Linked DNA regions of Homo sapiens: region 1 is linked to region 2. Evidence: promoter capture Hi-C in human tissues and cell types (Jung and others, 2019). All regions are on one chromosome and are shown on one strand. Each heading gives the region's core, a stretch centred on a gene start or on the middle of the fragment in contact. The rest is flanking DNA. Distances are from core to core; before and after follow the strand shown. Region 1 holds the start of FTCD (formimidoyltransferase cyclodeaminase). Region 2 has its middle 24 kb from the start of COL6A1.

The links. Contacts are between HindIII fragments. The study calls those that stand out against the background at their distance.
Region 1: the fragment with the promoter of FTCD here is called in contact with a fragment that was not itself captured in region 2 in 2 of the 25 tissues and cell types used here (heart right ventricle and mesenchymal stem cells).

What each region holds. Positions count from the first base shown.
Region 1 is chr21:46,153,734-46,160,017 of GRCh38, forward strand. It overlaps FTCD (formimidoyltransferase cyclodeaminase), which reads right to left and starts at 1,846. Exons shown (of 14, transcript NM_206965.2): 1 at 1,737-1,846; 2 at 416-599. The coding sequence starts at 1,790. RefSeq lists enhancers at 1-211, 212-915, 916-1,619. The HindIII fragment of the contact is 26,017 bases long and covers 1-6,284 here.
Region 2 is chr21:45,954,660-45,960,679 of GRCh38, forward strand. No RefSeq gene overlaps it. Among named protein-coding and RNA genes, the nearest start is that of COL6A1, 24 kb to the right of the region's middle. The HindIII fragment of the contact is 8,613 bases long and covers 1-6,020 here.

The sequences.
Region 1 (6,284 bases), core at 596-3,095, 200 kb after region 2:
GCCTGCCCACCGAGGTGTTTGGCTTGTGGGCTGTTGACAGGTCAGCTTCCAGGCAGCCCTTCCCCCACCAGTGCCTGCTCCAAGACTGGCTCTCAGCCCCCTTGACGAGTGGGCAGGTGGACGGGGCCCACAAACCTTCCCCGGCGTGGCCCCCTCCCCCCACCCAGCCGTGAAGGTGGCCCGGTGCTGTGGGAGCGTGGCGACCTGGGGGTCCCCCAGAGCACAGCCCTGCAGGCAGGATGGGGGCCATGACCCCCACACTCCAGGGTCCTCCTAGGAGAGCCAGAGCCAGCCCCACTGGACCCCACGTTCCAAGCCTGGGCCCCGGGCCTACCCCCTCTCCCAGGACACCAGGACAGGGCTCGGCCCTGACATTCTGAGACACGGCAGCCACAGGAGAGCCCAGAGACCTCACCTTGGTGCCTGCTCATGTCGATAAGTCGGGAAGCTACCCGGGCAGCGTTGAGGGCCCCCTCCACCACGCACTCCGGCGGCCCCACGAAGGTGTACACGGTGCGGTTGGTGGAAGGGCCTGCGTCCACATCCAGCAGCACGCAGCCCGGGGTCTGTGTGATGGCTCCAGAGATGGCGTCGATCACCTGGGACACAGGCCCGGCCCCCACACCTCAGTCTCCCCGTTTGAAAGAAGGAAAAGGAGCTTGGAGGTGGCTGCACCCCGAGACACAAATGGGGGCTGAGGAGGCGGGCCAAGCCTTTGGGGGCTCTCCGACAAGCTGAGCTCCCACCGAAAGTGCCCGCACACAGCGGCCGCCCGGGAACCCTCACAGCAGCCACAGTCACTCCAGCCCAAGCACAGTCCCCACAAGGGGCTGCAGGTGGTGCCTCCAGGAGAGACTCACGGGCTCTGCTCCGACAGACAGATGCCAGAGACGTGGCCGGGGATCCAAGAAGGTGACCACAGGCGCAGGTCACAGAGGGGCCGGGACCCCCACCCCCGAGCAGGGGAGGGACAGATCACCAGCATGGGGGAGGGGCCTGAAGGGCCTAGAACCTTCCGGGTGGCAGGACTGCTGGGAGCAGGGGCTCAGCCCCAAATCTTGCCCTGTCCCAGGGCCTTGGTGCTGGCTGGAATCCCGGCATGACGAGGCCTCCCTGCACCCCTGCGGGTGACCCCTGTGGCCTGGTGCTGCGCTCTGGGAGGCCTTCCAGGTGGCCCTTAGGGCCTGCGTTTGTTCCCGGAGGAGCCTGGACCTCAGGGCTGTGGAAGGCGAGAGGCCGGACCTGGGGGCCTGCTGCCCCCTCTGTGCCTACTTCGTTTTGGGTCCAGTGAGGATGGTGGCTGCAGGGTGGGGGCTCAGCAAGCTAACTCCAGTGGAGATGGAGAGGCGGCAGTGGGGACCATGCTGGGCCACCTCGTGTGGCCTCACACAGCCCTTTCAGTCAGTGGCAGGAGCCCCATTTTCAGGGGGGAGCACCAAGGCCCTTTGAGGCCCAGAGATCTGCCCAACCCCCCACCGAAAGCACCCGAAAGGCCCCTGAAGCCACAGCCAAGCCTCAGCCCCCACAAGCACCAGTCGTGTTCCACCCACCCCTGGGTCAGGCACTCCCCAGGGCCCTGAGCCACGGGATGTCCTTGGGGCCCACGGGCAGCGGCTCTGCCCATCCTGGGAAGACGACCCGGGACACCAAGCCCACCACCTCCTCCATGGCCTGGGCCTTAGCCACTCAAGCTGCCCCATCAGCCCTAGATGCTTGACCAGCTCCTCGGGCCTCACCTCCTGGTTCTTCCCCTCCGAAAAGTTGGGGACGCATTCCACCAGCTGGGACATGGCCAGCACCTTGATCCAGATGCTCCTCTCTGGGCAGATGGAAGGACAGGGCCAGTGCTCCGCAGCCGCCGCCAGGGCCTTTATACGCTCACCGGCAGCACCTCCCCACCGGCTTCTCATTAACCAGCAAGGCACAAGGAGCAGTGGGGCCAAGGTCCCTGTGCAGCCGCGGAGTGGGGTGCTGCAGAGCCACCCCGGGTGCTGTTGACCCAGAGGGGATGGCTCCACTCAGCCAGAGTGTGGGTTCCCGGAAAAGAAGCACATGCCAGGGTGAAGGGGCATGTGCCGAGGACCCCCAGGAGCATCAGGCCAGCCTGGCTGGAATCCTGTCGTGACGAGGCCTCCCTGTGCCACTGCGGGTGACCCTCGTGACCCTGTGCTGCCTTCTGGGAGGCCTTCCAGGCAGCCCGTGGGGCCTGCGTTTGTTCCTGGAGGAGCCTGGACCCCTGGGGCTGTGGAGGGCGAGAGGCCAGCATGAGGCCCTGGCTCGCAGCACCCAACTGAGGTCAGCTCAGCTCAGACAGGAGAGTGCAGGGGAGCACGCGTGTGAGAGTGAGTGAGGATACACGTGAGGGCAGGGCAGGGGAACACGTGAGAGTGCAGATACACGTGAGCACAAGGCAGGGGAGCACATGTGTGAGAGCGTGGATACATGTGAGCACAGGACAGGGGAACACGTGTGAGAGTGAGCGAGGATACATGTGAGTGTGGGGTAGGGGAGCACACGTGTGAGAGTGCAGGTACACGTGAGCATGGGGCAGGGGAAGCAAGCATGTGAGAGTGAGTGCAGATACATGTGAGCGCAGGGCAGGGGAACACGCGTGTGAGAGTGCAGATACACACGAGACGGGCATGTGCGATATGGGGGAAGGCAGCTGAGACCCCAGCTCTCCCCAGCTGCTGCTCCCCTGACTACAGGCTCCCCACGAAGTCAGCGGCACCAGGGCCGTGCTCAGAAGGGAGAACTCCTGTCTCCACGTTCAGCCGCTGCCCACTTGCAGTGCTTTTATCATTTTCTCTTTTTTTTTTTTTTGAGACAAAGTCTCACTCTGTCAGCCAGGCTGGAGTGCAGCGGCACAATCATGGCTTCCTGCAGCCTTGGTCCCCAGGCTCAAGAGGTCCTTTCACCTTAGCCTCCTGAGCATCTGGGCCACAGGCACACACCACTACACTGGCTAACTTTTCCATTTTTGGTAGACATGGTGATATGGTTTGGCTGTGTCCCCACCTAAATCTCATCTTGAATTGTAGAGCCCATAGTTCCCACGTCATGGGAGGGACCCGGTGGGAGGTCACTGAATCACGGGGGCGGCTTTTTCCGGTGCTGTTTTTGTGATAGTGAATGGTCTCACGAGATCCGATGGTTTTATAAAGGGCAGTTCCCCTGCACACACCCTCTTGTAAGACGTGACTTTGCTCCTCTTTCACCTTCCACCATGATTGTGGAACTGTTGAGTCCATTAAACTGCTTTTTCTTTAAAAATTACCCAGTCTTGCGTATGTCTTTATCAGACAAATACACATGAGGTCTCACCACGTTGCCCAGGCTGGTCTCAAACTCCTGGGCTCAAGCGATCCTCCTGCCTCGGCCTCCCAAAGTGCTGGAATTACAAGTGTGAGCCACTGAGCCCAGCCCCACTTGAAGTTCTTTTTTTTTTTTTTTTTTTTTTTTGAGACAGGGTCTCGCTCTGTCGCCCAGGCTGGAGTGCAGTGGTGCGATCTTGGCTCACTGCAAGCTCTGCCTCCCGGGTTCACGCCATTCTCCTGCCTCAGCCTCCAGAGTAGCTGGGACTACAGGCACCCGCTACCACACCCAGCTAATTTTTTGTATTTTTAGTAGAGATGGGGTTTCACCATGTTGGCCAGGATGGTCTCGATCTCTTGACCTCATGATCCACCCACCTCGGTCTCCCAAAGTGCTGGGATTACAGGCGTGAGCCACCCACTTGAAGTTCTTAATGGAACCCCAACCATGTGGGCCTTAGGGACCCCACCTCCGTGGCTACTCAGGGGGACTGGGATGAGACAGGAGCCAGGTAAGCCCAGAAACCTTCAGAGGCTGGGAGCACACAGAGTTCCCCAGCCAGGGCTCCACGTCTGGAGGCTGGGAGTGGGGGATGGGGTCAGGGATCTGTGTCTGGAGGGAGACCAGGAGGGGAGGATGGGGTCAGAGCTCTGTGGAGCCTCAAGGGGAGGATGGAGTCAGGGATCCATGTCTGGAGGCCAGGAGGGGAGGATGGGGTCTGTTGAGGGCCGCACTGCATTCCCTCGAGAAACCATCTGCTGAAGGCCTGACCTCCAGCATGGCAGACTGGATTACCCCCAGCACCGCCGACTGGATTGGATGTGGAGATGGACAGGGCGGTGAGAAGAGGGAGAGACACCAGGGATGCACTCAGAGAAAAGGCCAGGAGGACAAAGCAGGGAGGCGGCCGCCTGCAAGCCAAGCAGAGAGACCTCAGACAAACAGAATCTGCAGACACTTTGATCTTGTACTCTGGGCCTTCAGGACTGTGATAGAATAAATTTCTGTGGTTTAAGCTGCTGGGTCTGCGGTACTTTGTGACGGCAGCCGCACACATCCAGGGTCCCGAGGTGCGGGGCACTGGAACATTCTGGCTGTGAGGGTTGCCCACACTGGGCTGGCACCTTCATCCTCGCACCACAGCAGAGTGACCAGAACCATACACTCGTGACCCAGGACGGTGCCAAGGCCAAGACCTGGCCCTGTCCTCCAGCCCAGCAAATCGCCTGTCAGGAGAGAGGGTTGGGGCGGGAGGCCCCGGCAGGAGCTGCATGCATTTCCTACCCAGCTACTGCTGGACCAGGGCTTGGCTACAGCTGAGAACACGAGGGGGAATGGGGCTGGTTGTGACGCCGGCGCTGGTTCTCAGGGGCAGCACTGAGACATTAGAAATGCTGGCAGGTGCTGTAAATAGCTCCTGAATCGGGGACCCTAAGGGACCCCACTTACAGGAGAAAGAATCTCAGCTATGCCCACACCAGGGTTTCCACCATCTCTCCCCAGTGACAGGCCCAGGGCTACTGATTCCAGGGCCAGGCAGGCCATACACTTTTCTAACCCAGAGTATGAGACAAACATAGTGGGCCCATAAGTAAATGACTGAATACGGAAGCTGTGTGCAGGAGAATCCGAGTTCACTTGGGCCGGTGCCCACCTCCGTCCCAGGAGGTGGAAATCATCCCCTAGAAGCTCACTGCCCTCCCGTCTACAGATGGAAGAGCTGGTGCCCAGGGCCCGGGTGCTGCCCCAGGAGACATGGCCACGCCAGCCACTTCAGGGCCACCCTCCTCACCCTGTTCCCATTTCTCCTCATTTTAATAGTACAGTAAGAAAAAGTGCAGGAATGGGCTTCACCCTCTCTGCACGGGAGCCCTCCAGAAAGTTCCACGTGCACCTGCAGCTTAGGGGCCTAGGGGGTGGCACTGCCAGGGTGGGGGTCTAGCTTCTGACCACAGGGCCCCCCCAGGCTAGCCCAGCACAGTGGACAACTTGGGCCCCACTATATGGACAGAGGGTGAGCCATGGGCACCGCCCCAGCCAAAGCCCCCAGGGGCCACTCCAAGCCAAGCCCAAGAGCCTGGAAGACACTAAGGCTGTTTGGGGGACCCATGGCCAGAGGCTGAGAACCCCATTCTTCTAGAGACCCAGAGCACAGGGGCTGAATGCCACCTGCCCACCAGACTGTTCCTGTATAACTCATATGGTTTTTGTTTTCTGGTTTACAATGCTTTGACCTCTCGGGGGCCTTACTGGCTAGGTGGAGACTGCCCTCCCAGGACTGGCTAATTCCTAGAGACAGCAAAAGGTGCCTGCAAACAGAGCTCCCCTTTAAGGCACAAGCCAACCCACCTGGAGCCTGTAAACCCAACCACCCCTTATCTGACTCACTCACCAAACCCATGTTCCTCTGCCCTCAATCACCCTGGGGCAGGACGGTGGTCAACTAGACACCACCCCATAGCCCGGAGCCCAGGGAAATTAACCTGTCCAATCCTAAACTTGCTCCTTCGTGCCTACCCTCCCTGGCCTCTCTTCCCAGGGAAACCCCCACAGAGCCTCTGGCCATGCTCTCCCCTCTCGCCTTCTGCGTCCTGTTGCCACGGCGCCCCGCCCCGGGCGGCCCTGTGTGGCACGGTACGTGCCCTCCTGTGGTTTAAGTAGCTGGGTCTGCAGTACTTTGTGACACACTCTCCTTTAAAGTCAGGAGTCCTGTGTCTGTATCCCACCACACCCAACTGAAATAAATCCTGGTGCGTTTCATCACAGCCCTTCCTATCCCAGGCTTGCTGAAAGTATCCACTCGCTGGCACCGAGGGGAAGGGGGCATGGACCACCTGGCCGAGACTGTGTGGCTGCAGCCCTAGGCCTGGGGCCCAAAGCTCCTGGCCCAGCCACAGAGCCAGCCCAGTGCCGGCGTGGCCACAGGCGACCCTCAAAGGTAAGGCCAGAAATCAGCACCCAGCCACAGA
Region 2 (6,020 bases), core at 523-3,022:
GGCCTCTTCCGGGGTCAGCTCTGGCATTTTGTTTTTTCTTGAAACGATCTGGGAATTCAAACTTTCTGAATGCAGCTGCTCATAACGTTCTTGTGATTTCTTTGATCCCTCTGTCTGCAGTTATTTCTGTATTTTCAGTCTCTATTTTTATTTATATTTTCCTCTTTTTTTGCTCAATATTGTCAAAATCAATATATCTTTTCAAAGTATGATCCTTGGTTTTTGCTACTCATATTATTTTATTTTTCTCTATTTCATTGATTTCTGCCAGTATCTTTGTCATTTCCCTTTTTCTTATTACTTTGGGATCATTTTGTTACATTGCTGTTTTTTCCAATTATTTCATTTGTATGATTAGTTCTATTTCTTTTCTTTTTTCTTTTTTTTTTTTTTTTGAAAGAAGGTCTTGCTCTGTTCCCCAGGCTGGAGTGCAGTGGTGCTGTCATAGCTCACTGAAGCCTCAAACTCCTAGACTCAAGCAACCCTCCCACCTCAGCCTCTTAAGTAGCTGGGACTACAAGTGCTGTTAGAAATACCAAAATTGTTCGAAATAGATAATCGGTGCCGCGAAGAAAAGTCAGCACAGACACAAAAGATCTCTCAGCAAGGCCATCTTTACTTTCTGCAGAAAGGGTGCTCAGTCACAGATGGAATGATCGCGAGAGGTCACCTAAGCAAAGGAAAGGCAGACATAATTAACCCTTAAGCATTTGGGTCGTCCTTACTGTTGTGTCCTGCATCCATTGGCTGGAGCTGGGCCTCACAGTCTTAAACTGATACCTGATTTGCTAATAACCTGAAACTTTCCTAAATAGGTAATTAGGAAAGGTCTAAGGAAGCAATAACATTTCCAAATAAGGAAGGGGCATAGGCTGTGAGCTGGAACGTGTCTGTGAGCATGTCCAACAATTACATGGGATAGGGCTTAACAAAGAGTTATTAGCACAAAGCAAGGAGAATTGAAGAAAGTCTTTAAAAGAAACTATTATTTCTAACACTTATGATGTATTCTTTAACAAGAAGGGGAAATTTGAAGAGGAAAACTTTTACTCTCTACAAGCGTGCACCACCACACCCAGCTAATTTATTTTTTCATTTATTGTAGAAGCAGGGTCTTGCTTTGTTGCCCGGGTTGGTCTGCAATTCCTAGGCTCAAGCGATCCTCCACCTCGGCCTCCTGTAGTCACCTGGGATTACAAGTGTGAGCCCCCACGCCCGTCCTATTGAAAATGTATTTATGACTGTATATTTCTAGGTACTCTTAACTGTGTCCTGTGACTTTTGACATACGGTATTATCATTATTATTCAATTCTAAAGAGGTTTTTCATTCCCTCAAGAGTTCTACTTACCCAAAGGTTACTAGTAAAATGTTATTAAATATCCAAACACATGAGATTCTCTCAGGTATCCTTTGAATATTCATTTCCAAATGTTTTGCATCATGGTACGAATTCATAATCTCCATGACACGGATCCTTTGGGGTTTACTGAGGCATCTTTTATGACCTAATCCAATGGTCTCTTTTTGTAAGTCTTCCACGTCTGCTTGAGTAGAAGTGTATTCTCTGCCTGCCACCCGCTCTATGTGGATCTAATAGCTGGTGACTGCGTTGTCAAGTCTTGAACAGCTTTGATGCTTTTTGTCTGATGTGATCTATGTAGAAGGCAGAATCATGGCCCCCAAAAGATGTGCAAATCCTAAACCCCAGAACCCATGAATACATCATATTCCATAGCAAGGGGGTATTAATGTTGCCAATTAATTAAGGTTTCTACTCAGTTGACATGAAAATAAAGAGGTAACTCTGGCTTATCCAGGTGGGTGCAATTTAATTACAAACGCTTAAATGGGGAGGTCAGGGGCAGAGGGATGATGTCACAAACACACCCATGTGTGCTTGGTGCAAAACAGTAAAACAAACAGCAAGAAGGTCCATGAAGGAAAGATCGCCTCTGTCAGTGGGAGTAATGAGAGTGGCTGATGGACAGGTGTGTTAGGCTGTTTGCACTGCTATAAAGAAATACCTGGGGTTGGGTAATTTATAAAGAAAAGAGGTTTATTTGGCTCACGGTTTTGTAGGCTACACAAGCATGGCCCCAGTGTCTGCTTCTGGGGAAGCCTTGGGAAGTGATAGTCATTGCAGAAAGTGGCCATGGAAGCAGGCACATCCCATGGCAAGAACAGGAGCAAGGGACAGAGTGGGCAGAGGAGCCAGGCTCCTTTAAACAACCAGCTCTCATGGGAACTGAGTGAGAACGTGCTCATTGCCAAGAAGATGGCTCTAGGCTATTCATGAGACATCCACCCCGTGATCCAATACCTCCCCCCGGGGCCCACCTGCAACACTGTGAAACACATTTTCACATGAGATTTGGAGGAGACAAAACCTCCAAACCATATCAAGTGGCACACTCACAAGAAAACGTGTCAGTGGCCAAGACGATTTGCAATGAGGACTGGATGAGGCTGGGACCCAACTCTCTGTCTCTGACATTCCTGCTCATCTCATGGACAGAGGCACTGATTGTTCTAGACCATCTTTCCAAGGGTGTTGTTTTGTGACAGCCTTGATAATATGTCCTTCCAGATCAAAGGGCAGGTTGCTTACACCCTAATCCTGAAGGTAAAGACGTTTTCTCCCTCCAAAGCAAAGAGCAGGCATGCTTACTGTCCATTATAAAAGATTCACGTTCCCTGAGCTCAGGGTTCCTCTCCTGCAGTGCAGTCCACGGTGTGTGCAGATGCCACTGGGCCCACTCTGTGTCACTGTTTGGGAAACGGGGCTCGGAAACTGGTGTGAAAAGTATGCTGATACTCTGTTAGAAAAAAATGCCAACATTCTGGCTACTGATATTGCTGTGAGTAATAAAGTACTTCATCCTTGAAAAACCAAAAGGCCCAGTTAAGATAAGGTGGACAGAAAAACACCTAAACAAAGGTAAGGCTTGCTATGGAGAGTCAAGCCAACACTGCCTCCAGTGTAAGAGTTTCTAGTGACTTCGTTCCCCTTCTTTTCCCAATGCAAAGACAGAGATGCCCTTTAAATGGAGGTTTCAGCTGGGCGGTGGCTCACTCCTGTAATCCCAGCACTTTGAGAGGCTGAGGCAGGCAGATCACTTGAGTTCAGGAGTTGGAGACCAGCCTGGGCAACATAGTGAGAGCCCATCTCTACAAAAAATACAAACATTAGCCAGGCGTGGTGTTGCATACCTGTAGCCCGAGCTACTTGGGAGGCTGAGGTGGGAGTATTGATTGACTCCAAGAATTCAAGCTGCAGTCATCTGCAATCACACCACTGCACTCCAGCCTGGGTGACAGAGTGAGACCCTGTCTCCAAAAACAAAAACAAAAGAAAAGAAATGAAGTTTCATTTATTGATGTAAATTGTTCTTACAAAGCATTTCAAAATAACCAGCTGAAAACAGTCCTATGCCAGAAGGCATCTTTGAGAAGCTAAGTTGGCTGCATCACCACTTTTCCAACCCAGCTCGAGGTTTTGGCTTGATCACTGAGTTAGGGCGGAGCCCACTGCAGAATGGGGCAAGCATTTCCTGGACTCAGCACGCTCGCTTCCAATCTTGCCTTATAGTCAGAGACTGGTTCATTTTTTATTTTTGTTTGTTTTCAAGATTGAATAACAGATCAGCCAGGGCTTTTTTCACAAGCAAAAAAAAAAGGGAGTTTGGGGGCATAGTACAGATCACAACGAGACAGAGCTGGACAGAGTGGGAGAGCACAGAGTCAGCAGGAGCTGGAGAAGAATTTCGTTGACCAAGAGATTCCCATGGGAGAAGCAGGACCAAATAGAGAAAACAGAAAGGACTAATTCTTAAAAAATGTGTTTTTGAAAATTTCCAAGTGTCGTTTGGACAGATTCAGATACAGGAAACTTTTGAACTTCATTTGAAAGTCCAGTATTTGAAATTGGACTACTTCTGTGTCCACCACAGAAGTATTCTTTTTCCTCTTAAGAATTAGTGAATGACTGTCTGGAACTCAAGCCCATGAGAGCTTCCTCTACTGGGAAAACAGACTCAGCCAGAGGGAGTGGGCCCATCAGATGGCTCGTACAAAAGTGGACAATTTCTTTTCCAATGGTCAGAATGGATTTGTTACAATGCCGAGAAAAGTGATGTTAGAGTGAAGTCTGTCAAAACCATCACCCTAGGAGAGCATCATAACACTTTCCCAAAAAGTAAAAATTCATAACTCCAGGGAAGAAAAATGAGAATCACTCATTTTTCTACCATCCAAAGATAACCAGTGCTGATACTTTGTTAAATTTCCTTTCTGGGGGTCCTTTTCTGTTTTTTTGTTCTGTTTCATTCTGACAAAACAAAACAAAACACTACCTCACACCCTATACCAAAAAAAAGTCAATTCCAGATGGATTTTAGATCTGCATGTCAAAAGTAAGACAATGATCTTCTAGAAGTAAACATTGGAGAAGAGCTTCCAGAGCTTGCAGTGGGCAAAGAGTGATACCGAGGTCACAAAACCACTAACCATAAACGAAGTTGATAAACAACTATAAAATAAAGAACTAGAAAGACAAAATATTCACAGTACACTTGTCTGACACAGAGCCTCATTCTAGAACGTGCAAATAAGAAGACAGCCCAAGAGACCAATGAGAAAAAGACTTGCTCAGACTCTTCAGAAGACATGAGAAATCAGTGGGCAACAAGCATACACAAAGGTGTTCGACCTCATTACCAACAAACATGCAAATTTAAACCACAGCGTGGAACTGCTGCCTGGCCGACAGACAGCTGAAATGAAACAGGCAGAGATGGCCTGTGGACAGAGGATGTGGAGCAAATAGAACTTCCAATGATGGCTGCTGGAAGTGAATAGCTCCTCTGGAAGATGAGTGGTGTCTCCTGAAGCTGAGTATCTGCGTGTCTGTGACCTTGTAGTTTCTACTTCCAGATGTGGTCAAGAGAACTGTGAATGTGTGTGCACCAGAAACATCCACTGGGACATTCATAGCACCCTTCTCATGACATCTCCACTCCACAGGCCACCCAAAATGAGTGAGAGAGTAAAATGTGGAGTGTCTGCGCACTGGGATGCTCCACAGCAATGGGAATGAACAGCCTGCTCAGACACACATCAACTTGGGTTGCCTCAGGGACCTTACGCCAAGCAGGAGATGCCAGACACAGAGTCCATCCTGAGAGAGTCTGTTCCTGTCCAAGCTCAGAAACACAGGAAGCCACCTGTGCTGTAGCAGCACGCGGAGATGCATCCTTTCTGGTCCACCCCACGGCCCTCATTGCAGTCAGGGATCCTCTCCCAGAAAGTCCCTGCTGCCAGCCCCTGCCCTTCCAGGGTGCACTCTGGACGTTGCTTCCGTGACTGGTCTCAACACCTCTCTCCACTGCTCAGGCAGCGGCCTTGGCTCTGGGAGCCTGGAATGTGCAGGAACCAGCTGGCCTTGGAGTGCTGCAGACTCCAAGGTGCGTCACCTGCAGTTCTGATCCCTGTTCTGGATGCAACCCAGGACCCTGCCCTTGCCAAGCATCCCAGGAACACTGGCACTGATGGCTGAGGCTACATCCAAGACAGACGGTGAGGAAGGCCCCAAGGAAAGGGCCGTGTGGGACACATTGTCCTTCCCAAGATGATGAGTCTGAGCCTGGCAGGGGAGGCACTGGGAGGGCCTGTTGTGGGCAGTTCATTCAATGGACACAGGGTGGCACCGCTCTGTGTCCTCTAATGACCATTAGACACCTCTAACCATCACATGATGTGCAGCTCAGCTTTTCCAAGGGCCTGGAAGTGAATATTTCAGGAGATAACGTGAATAACCCACTGTATTCATCTGTTCTCAGGCTGCTAATAAAGACATACCCGAGACTGGGTAATTTATAACAGAAAAGAGGTTTAATGGACTCACAGTTCCACATGGCTGTGAGGCCTCACAATCATGGCAGAAGGCAAAGGTGGAGCAAAGGCACATCTTACATGGTGGCAGGCAAGAGAACCTGTGCAGAGGAACTGCCCTTTATAAA